3 separate regions of the Homo sapiens genome follow, and regions 1 and 3 are each linked to region 2. Evidence: promoter capture Hi-C in 16 types of primary human blood cells and fetal thymus (Javierre and others, 2016). All regions are on one chromosome and are shown on one strand. Each heading gives the region's core, a stretch centred on a gene start or on the middle of the fragment in contact. The rest is flanking DNA. Distances are from core to core; before and after follow the strand shown. Region 1 overlaps CHST6 (carbohydrate sulfotransferase 6). Region 2 holds the start of GLG1 (golgi glycoprotein 1). Region 3 overlaps TMEM170A (transmembrane protein 170A).

The links. Contacts are between HindIII fragments. The CHiCAGO score rates a contact against its expected background, and 5 or more counts as called.
Region 1: a contact is called between a fragment that was not itself captured here and the fragment with the promoter of GLG1 in region 2, in 1 of 17 cell types (neutrophils). The highest score is 6.9, in neutrophils.
Region 3: a contact is called between a fragment that was not itself captured here and the fragment with the promoter of GLG1 in region 2, in 1 of 17 cell types (activated CD4 T cells). The highest score is 7.3, in activated CD4 T cells.

What each region holds. Positions count from the first base shown.
Region 1 is chr16:75,472,778-75,475,477 of GRCh38, reverse strand. CHST6 (carbohydrate sulfotransferase 6) reads left to right here. Exons shown (of 3, transcript NM_021615.5): 3 at 1-2,700. Among named protein-coding and RNA genes, the nearest start is that of TMEM170A, 9.4 kb to the right of the region's middle. The HindIII fragment of the contact is 3,555 bases long and covers 1-2,700 here.
Region 2 is chr16:74,605,834-74,608,533 of GRCh38, reverse strand. It overlaps GLG1 (golgi glycoprotein 1), which reads left to right and starts at 1,420. Exons shown (of 26, transcript NM_001145667.2): 1 at 1,420-1,877. The coding sequence starts at 1,440. RefSeq lists silencers at 1,250-1,439, 1,670-1,849. The HindIII fragment of the contact is 13,128 bases long and covers 1-2,454 here.
Region 3 is chr16:75,452,171-75,455,065 of GRCh38, reverse strand. All of the region lies in intron 1 of TMEM170A (transmembrane protein 170A), which reads left to right. Among named protein-coding and RNA genes, the nearest start is that of TMEM170A, 11 kb to the left of the region's middle. The HindIII fragment of the contact is 4,371 bases long and covers 1-2,895 here.

The DNA of each region.
Region 1 (2,700 bases), core at 170-2,669, 870 kb before region 2:
CTCTGGGTTGCTGTGGGGGTGACTGCATTGACCACTGTTAGTGGTTTGCTGTGTTGACACTCTGTGCTGTGTGACCATGGCTCCTGCCATCAAGAAGTAGAGTCTGTTTCTCCACCTCTGAATCCAGGCTGGTCCTGTGACTTGCTTTGTCCTGTAGACAAGTGTAGTGCAACTTCCTGTGAGCCAGTTTGAAGCATAGGCCTTGGAAGCAAAACTTTACCTCCACCTGTCTTAGGTTTTCAGCTGGGGCTCTGCTGTGATTTGATTGTGTCTCCCAAAGTTGGAACCTTGATCCCCAGTGTTGTGAGGTGAGGCTTGATGGAAAGTAAATTACGCCGTGCGGGTTATGCCCTTGTGAATGGGTAGAGAACATTATTTCTGGGCGCAGGCATGGTAGCTCATGTCTGTAATCCCAGCATTTTGGGAGGTTGAGGTGTGCGGATTACTTGAGGTCAGGAGTTTGAGACCAGCCTGGCCAACAAGGTAAAACACCATTTCTAGTTAAAATACAAAAATTAGCCAGGTGTGGTGGCACATGCCTGTAAGGCCAGCTACTTGGGAGGCTGAGACAGGAGAATCGCTTGAACCCAGGAGGCAGAGATTGCAGTGAGCTGAGATCGCACCACTGTACTCCAGCCTGGGCAACAAAGCGAGAGTCTGTCTTAAAAAAAACCACCATTATTTCAGGAGTGAGTTGGTTATCCTGAGAGTGGTGCCTTTTAAATGAAGGAGTTCATTCTTTGTCTTTCTCTCGCCCTCACTTTGCCCTTCTGCCATATGATGCCTTCCATCATGCTAGGACACAGCAAGAAGGCTCTCGCTAGATGCTGGCTCCTTGATCTTGGGCTTCCCAGCCTCCAGAACTGTAAGCCAATACACTTCTATTTATTATATATGACCCTTGCTGGGTTCAGTGGCTCACGCCTGTAATCCCAATACTTTGCAAGGCTGAGGCAGGAGGATCACTTGAGACCAGGCACTCAAGACCAGCCTGGGCAACATAGTGAGACCCCATCTCTACAAAGTTAAAAAAAAATTAGCAGGGCATGGTGTCGTGCACCTGTAGTCCTAGCTACTTGGGAGGCTGAGTTGGGAGGACTGCTTGACCCTGGGAGGTTGAGGCTACATTGAACCATGATCATGCCAGTGCACTCCAGCCTGAGTGACAGAGCAAGACACCTATCTCTAAATAAATGACCCCATCTGTGGTATTGTTATAGCAAAACAAAACAGATTAAGAGAGACTTTTTAATGAAAAGACAGATTCACAAAGAAAAACAATGTTTTTGTTTCTGTTTTTTTGAGGCAGAGTCTTGCTCTTGTCCCCCAGGCTGGAGTGCAGTGGCGCCATCTTGGCTCACTGCAACCTCCGCCTCCCAGTTTCAAGCGATTCTCCTGCCTCAGCCTCCCGAGTAGCTGGGATTACAGATGTACACCACCACGCCCGGCTAATTTTTTTTGTATTTTTAGTAGAGATGGGGTTTCACCATGTCGATCAGGCTGGGCTGGAACTCCTGACCTCAGGTGATCCACCTGCCTTGGCCTCCCAATGTGCTAGGATTACAGGCATGAGCCACTGTACCTGGCGAAAAACAGTTTGTTAACACAGGCAGCCAACATCACTCAGGATAAGCCTCAATGAAAAGTAACAAAGTGATGGCTTGGAACACTGTCTTACACAGCATTTTTAAAAAATACAATAAATTTGTAGAGATAGGATGACCAAGGACAACAGTTTTAGGCTTCCAAAGGTGGTAAACTATGGGATGGTAAATATCCGAGAGGAAGCTGATGCAACAGGATTTGTCTGCAGCAGCCTCTGGTACCACCTCTGAGTCAAGGGTTGTGTCCAGTGATGGAGAGTTTATATCGTGCCTTTAGGCAGAAAAGGGGAGGGAAACCTGAACTTTTCCTGCACTTTCTGCTTCTTAATTGCCTTCAGCTGAAAATCATTTTTTATGTGAAAAAGGCATAGTCTGAGCTGACGCCTCTGCTTTCCTCCACCTGAAGAGAACCTGCGTGCTGCTCCTTTGCTTCGGACCTCCGCCTCTGCCCGGGAGAAAGCCCAGGCCAGCCTGCTGGACAAGCAGAGACCATGAGAAGGAGAGTTCAGGGGTCCCAAACCAGGCCATCCTAGACCAGCCAGCTCCAGCTGATCCGCACGCAGCCACTTCGGCTACCTTCTACTGGCCAAAGGGAGTCCCAGGGCTCACCCAGATTCAGAGGTGGGGAAACTGAGTCCACCACTTGAGAAGAGTAGCTATAAAGACATATGAGCGAGGCCAGCTGAGCCCAGCACTGCGGCCAAGTCGAAGACTTTAGGAGCAATAAAAGTGCTTATTGTGTTTCAGTCATTTGAGTGTTGTGGTGGTTTGTTACGTAGCATTGCCTAACCGATACACTTGAGAACGGAGGGCTCCTGGCACCTGCAGCTTCCAATTTCCACCAGGGTCCAGGCTCCCTCCCTGCTGGTAGGGCTGTAATTAGTGTCTCCCCTTACCTGTAGGCCCTGTGATGCAGCTAGAAGTGTCTAGGCCCAGCAGTCACCCACAATTAGGGGCAGGCACGCTTGCTGCCTCTGCTCTGGCTGTGGGAGCTCAGAAGGGGCAATCAAAGCACTAGATGGGCTGATGGGTGCATAGAAACAGTGTTGCCTGGAATAGGTCAGAGAACCCACCTATCAAGAGGCTGTTGGGGAAT
Region 2 (2,700 bases), core at 171-2,670:
AGGTTAGCAGCAGCCTCATGATCATTTTATGACAGTAGCAAAGGTGACCGTTGGTGGAGATGCCAACAAGCTCTCATTCCCCATGATAGAGGCCTGGGGTCAGCCACAGTGGGTAATTTGTACTCACAGAATATCTTCAGTCTCAGGAGCTCCTTTTGGGTTCCCTGAGCTCCTGACTTTTCAGGTTCTAGTTATGTCTAACTTGGTCTTGACTGCTCATTTGCGGGTCAGGACAGCAGAAGCTGTCTGTTTACTACAGTAGATGTAATTCGCATTTTTGGACACAATGACCAGTGGAGATTACACAACCCAAACTGCCCTCATTCCCCAACATGTGCATGGACAGAGTGGGATGAAAGTGCGCCAGGGTGGTGGGAAGCCCCAGGGATTCTGGTGGCTAGCCTAGCTGTCTACAGGATGGCAGAGTTCCTCTTGGGCAGCTCATTTAATCCCTCCACGCAGAACTGTTAACATCTCTGTGCCATTCTTCAGTTAAATGAGAACCTAACGCAGGCCTGATGCATGGCTCAGATTACACAGCGGATGTGAAGAGGCTTTGGGAACATATCCTCTCTCCTAAGGACAGGGAGGGGATGCTAGTGTGGGGTGCCTGCGGTGTTGCATGCAGGTCAATGAGAACAGTTACCGACACACAGACTTAACCCGAGTCCTCAAAGATGTGTTTTATTATTATTTTTTCATCCTTTAAACATGAATCTAAATGCTGGCTTAAAATCAGGATTCATGCATAAACGGCTTCCCAGTTTATTAACAATACTGGCTGTGACTTTTTGAGTTCAGTGTTGTGGGCCAGGCACTTAAATTATTATTTCGAATCTTGCCAATGGTACTTTACATTTGAGCTCTTGCGTACCCTGCCAGAGCAAGGATTATAACCTTAATTTTTTTTCTTACCCCAGAACTTATGCTCTTAACCCTATTCAATGCTGTCTCTCTCTTTGGCTAAGAAAGACTTCTGAGGCAGATGGAAGGAAGGAAGGAAGGAGGGAGCGATACAAGGAGAGGCTTTCCGATTCCGTAATACACCTGGTTGTGCAAAGTTCACCTCTACATATAAAGTTTTTGTTTTCCAAGTCATTGAACCGGCGACATATTCTACCGGCCATTTTGGTTGTGGCAACCCCAATTCCCTTGATTTTTTTTTTTGTGACAGCAAATGGAATTAGAGTAGGCCGCCCTGCCCGGGCTTTTTAAGAAACCCCAGCAACCCCCCCGGGTAAGGAGCGCCGCTCTCCCGCCCGCCGGTCCAGGGTGTGTGCGGTTTCCAGCACGGCCTCCTCCTTCGCCCCACTCTGGGTTCGCGGGTCGGCGCCGGCGGGGCGGGGCTCGGCAGGGCCACGCTGCCACGCCCAGCGTCTCCACCCCCTCATTTAAATACGCGGCGCCGGCGAGTGCGTCGAGCTCGCCGCGGACTCAAGATGGCGGCGTGTGGACGTGTACGGAGGATGTTCCGCTTGTCGGCGGCGCTGCATCTGCTGCTGCTATTCGCGGCCGGGGCCGAGAAACTCCCCGGCCAGGGCGTCCACAGCCAGGGCCAGGGTCCCGGGGCCAACTTTGTGTCCTTCGTAGGGCAGGCCGGAGGCGGCGGCCCGGCGGGTCAGCAGCTGCCCCAGCTGCCTCAGTCATCGCAGCTTCAGCAGCAACAGCAGCAGCAGCAACAGCAACAGCAGCCTCAGCCGCCGCAGCCGCCTTTCCCGGCGGGTGGGCCTCCGGCCCGGCGGGGAGGAGCGGGGGCTGGTGGGGGCTGGAAGCTGGCGGAGGAAGAGTCCTGCAGGGAGGACGTGACCCGCGTGTGCCCTAAGCACACCTGGAGCAACAACCTGGCGGTGCTCGAGTGCCTGCAGGATGTGAGGGAGGTGAGGAGGTGGGACGAAGCCGGGAGGGCCAGGCCTGGTGCGGGCCCGAGGGTGTTGCCGGCCTTGGAAGCCGCTGACGCCGGTCGGCTGCTTTCCTTGCTTCCTCTGTGCTGCACTCGCTCCTTCCCTCTTTGCTCCTCACTCCCAGGCGCTTTCAGGGAAAAGGATACCACTCCCACTCCTTCTTTCCCCCGCCCTTATTTCCCTCCCTGTTGCCGGGGTCTGGGACGAAAACCTGGGCTCCTGGCCGCAATCCGCCGAGGCCCAGAGCGTGTCTGTTCGCTCCTGTCTTTTGTGTGATGCTCTATGCAGAGTGTCTCCTCGCCGAAGATCAGTTTAGGATTTTGCCATCAGTTTCGACTAGGACAATTTGTGGCAAGCCATTTAAACATAAAAAAATGCCTGGCGTACTTAGGCTGTAAAGAATGATCTGTTTATTAGCAGTAGATGTAATTCGCAAATCCATATTTTTGGTGCTGAAATTAATGTATGCTTTGTTTTCTTCACTTCCTTTGGTCAGTTGTATTGAACCCCATGTTTAAGCTGTTAACTCCCAGTGACTTGGCGCCCCAAAGCTTGAAAAGTTGGGGAAGCGTTTGAAGCTGTGTTTGTGACTGGGTTATGGGATCTTGCCTTTCTGAGGTCTGAATGTGATTTTAACAGTATCTCTTAATGAAATCTACATTTGTCGTTGCTTGGTGTGATTCAGTTGAGTGACATTGATAATTTATAATCAAGTGACATTGATAATTTATAATCTAGGTTTAATGCTGCAGACCATAATGACAATTCTCAAAGTTTGGGAGCAAATCTGACAGTAGTA
Region 3 (2,895 bases), core at 198-2,697, 850 kb before region 2:
ATATTTTAATGGGACTTTGTAGTATTACGTGGGTGCACAGAATGTGTTTTCCAAATTCTGCAGTGATAGCCATGCAGGTGACTTCTAGTTTTTGATATTATGGACAATGCTGTTGGGACCTTCTTGTTACCTCTGTCCTTGCCTACCTATGCTTTTCTGTGGGGTGTATCCCCGGAAGTAAAATTGTTGCAGCAAGGGCCATGCACATTTGACTTCCAAATTACCCTGCAAAAAGGTGGTTTTCCAGTTTGTATTCCAACTAGGAGTGTCAGGTGGGGCCTGTGGAATAATGTCATGACAACCGTTACTGCTCAAAACCTATACTGGCACTTTAGATCTTTTGTGAAGTCCTTAGTCTGGTGTCAAATTCCCCAAAGGGTTTCCCTCATCTGTCTTTATAGCTTTAACTGTCATTGCTCTTTTATTTTTTTGAGACGGAGTGTCATTCTGTCTCCCAGGCTGGAGTGCAGTGGTGTGATCTGAGCTCACTGCAACCTCTGCCTCCTGGGTTCAAGCGATTCTCCTGCCTCAGCCTCCCAAGTAGCTGGGACTACAGGTGCCTGCCACCATGCCCGGCTAATTTTGTGTGTGTGTGTATGTGTGTGTATTTTTAGAGAGACAGGGTTTCACTATGTTGGCCAGGCTGGTCTTGAACTCCTGACCTCGTGATTAGCCCACCTCGACCTCCCAAAGTGGTGGGATTACAGGTGTGAGCTACCACGCCCGGCCATCATGGCTCTTATAAAGCCTCTGTGCTTTGGTAAAGCCCGTGGTTTTTAATCAGGGTAGTTTTGCCCCCTTGGGGACATTTGACAATGTCTGGAAATATTTTTGGTTGACACAACTGGGAATAGAGTGCTGCAGGCCAGAGGTGCCTCTCCATATCCTGCAGTGCACAGTGCAGCCCCCACAATGAAAAGTTATCTGGTCCAAATGTCAATAGGGCGGAGGGCGGTGGTCAAGAAACCCTGCTGAGCTAAGCTCTTCACTGATCTCAAAAATCACTTGCTACTTACCTGCCTCTAGCCAAGGATGGACAGTGGGTTTTATCTAATGTGTCACCGCCAGTCCCTCCCTGTGGGTAGCTGGAGAGCTACCTTGAGGATTCTAAGGCCTTGCCTTGGGTTCACTGGGGGGAAATGCTACATGGGCCATTTAACAAATTGTAAAGTCACATTCCAGCAGGATGGTTTTGTTTTCTTTATATGGGTGCCTCATGCATAGTTTTTCATACATAGTTGATGATTATATGTATCTTAATGTTGCCTGAGTTACAGACACCTTAAGAGTGATTAGAGTTCTGTAGGAGCCAGCTCTCCTAACCTGCACTGTTGTTTACCTGCCATTTGTCTTCAAGCCAAACATTTATATTTTCTGGTATTTATTTCATATCCTAAAGAGCTTTGAAATCCTAATAGGAGGTGATGGCTTGATATTTACTGCATTGTCTTTCAAATGATTGTGGAATGAATATAATTGTATAGCTGTCCATTTTAGAAGACTGAGTGATCAAAAGGTCAGGAAAGATCAACAGGCATTGATTGCATAGTACCGTATCAATTGGCTCTTTGGCTTGTGCCTCTTATGGGGGAATTATTTTTGTTTGGGTTTTTTGGTTTTTGGGGGAGTTTTTTGAGACCGTCTCACCCTGTTGCCCAGGCAGGAGTGCAGTAGCATGATCTTGACTTACTGCAACCTCTGCCTCCCAGGCTCAAGCAATCCTCCCACCTCAGCCTCTCGAGTAGCTAGGACTACAGGTATGCAATACCATGCCAGGCTAATTTTTGTATTTTTTGTAGAGACAGGGTTTCGCTGTATTGCCCAAGCTAGTCTCAAACTCCTGGGCTCAAGCGACCTGCCCACCTTGGCCACCTGAAGTGTTGGGATTACAGTCGTGAGCTGCCGTGCCCAGTTATGGTCGGGGACATTATTTAGGTCAATTTTGAAATCTAGATGAACCTTTTTTTTCAGTTTGAGGGTACAGAGATTGGTCAGCTTTTTCTGTGAAGGGCCAGATAGTAAATATGTTAGGCTTTATGGGTCATGTGGTCTGTGTCACTGTTATCAGCTTTGCCCTTGAAGCTGGAAGGCAGCCATAAACAATACTTAAATGAAAGGGCATGGGTTGAATAAGTATGTGTGTGCAAAACTCTTGTAAATGGTTTCAGATAAGTGTGTATGTATAAAAGTATTATGAATGGGTTCAGATAAGTGTGTAAAAAACAGGTGGTGGGTCTGTAGGCAGTAATTTGTTGAACACACTAAAACCGTCAATATTTGGATATTTGACTGATGAACCCTACTTTGCAAGTAAATGATGTTGAAGGCCGGGTGCGGTGGCCTCACACCTGTAATCCCTGCCCTTTAGGAGGCCAAGTTGGGCGGATTGTTTGAGCCGAGGCATTCAAGACCAGCCTGGGCAACACGGTGAGACCCCATCTCTAAAGAAAATACAGGCCAAGCGCAGTGGCTCATGCCTGTTATCCTAGCACTTTGGGAGGCCAAGGCGGGCAGATCACCTGAGGTTGGGAGTTTGAGACCAGCCTGGCGAAACTCCCACTGCACTCCATCCTGGGCAACAGAGTAGTGAGACCCTGTCTCATAAAAAAAGAAAATTAAAAAAAAAAGAATTTTGCCAGGCGTGGTAGCACACATCTGTAGTTCCAGCCACTCCGGAGGCTGAGGCGGGAGAACACCCAGACCTAGGAGGTCAAGGCTGCAGTGAGCCATGATGGTGCCATTGCACTGCAGCCTGGGTGACGGAGTGAGACCCCGTCTTTAAAAATAAAAATTTTTGACTGGGCGCGGTGGCTCACGCCTGTAATCCCAGCACTTGGGAGGCCGAGGCGGGCGGATCATGAGGTCAGGAGATCGAGACCATCCTGGTTAACATGG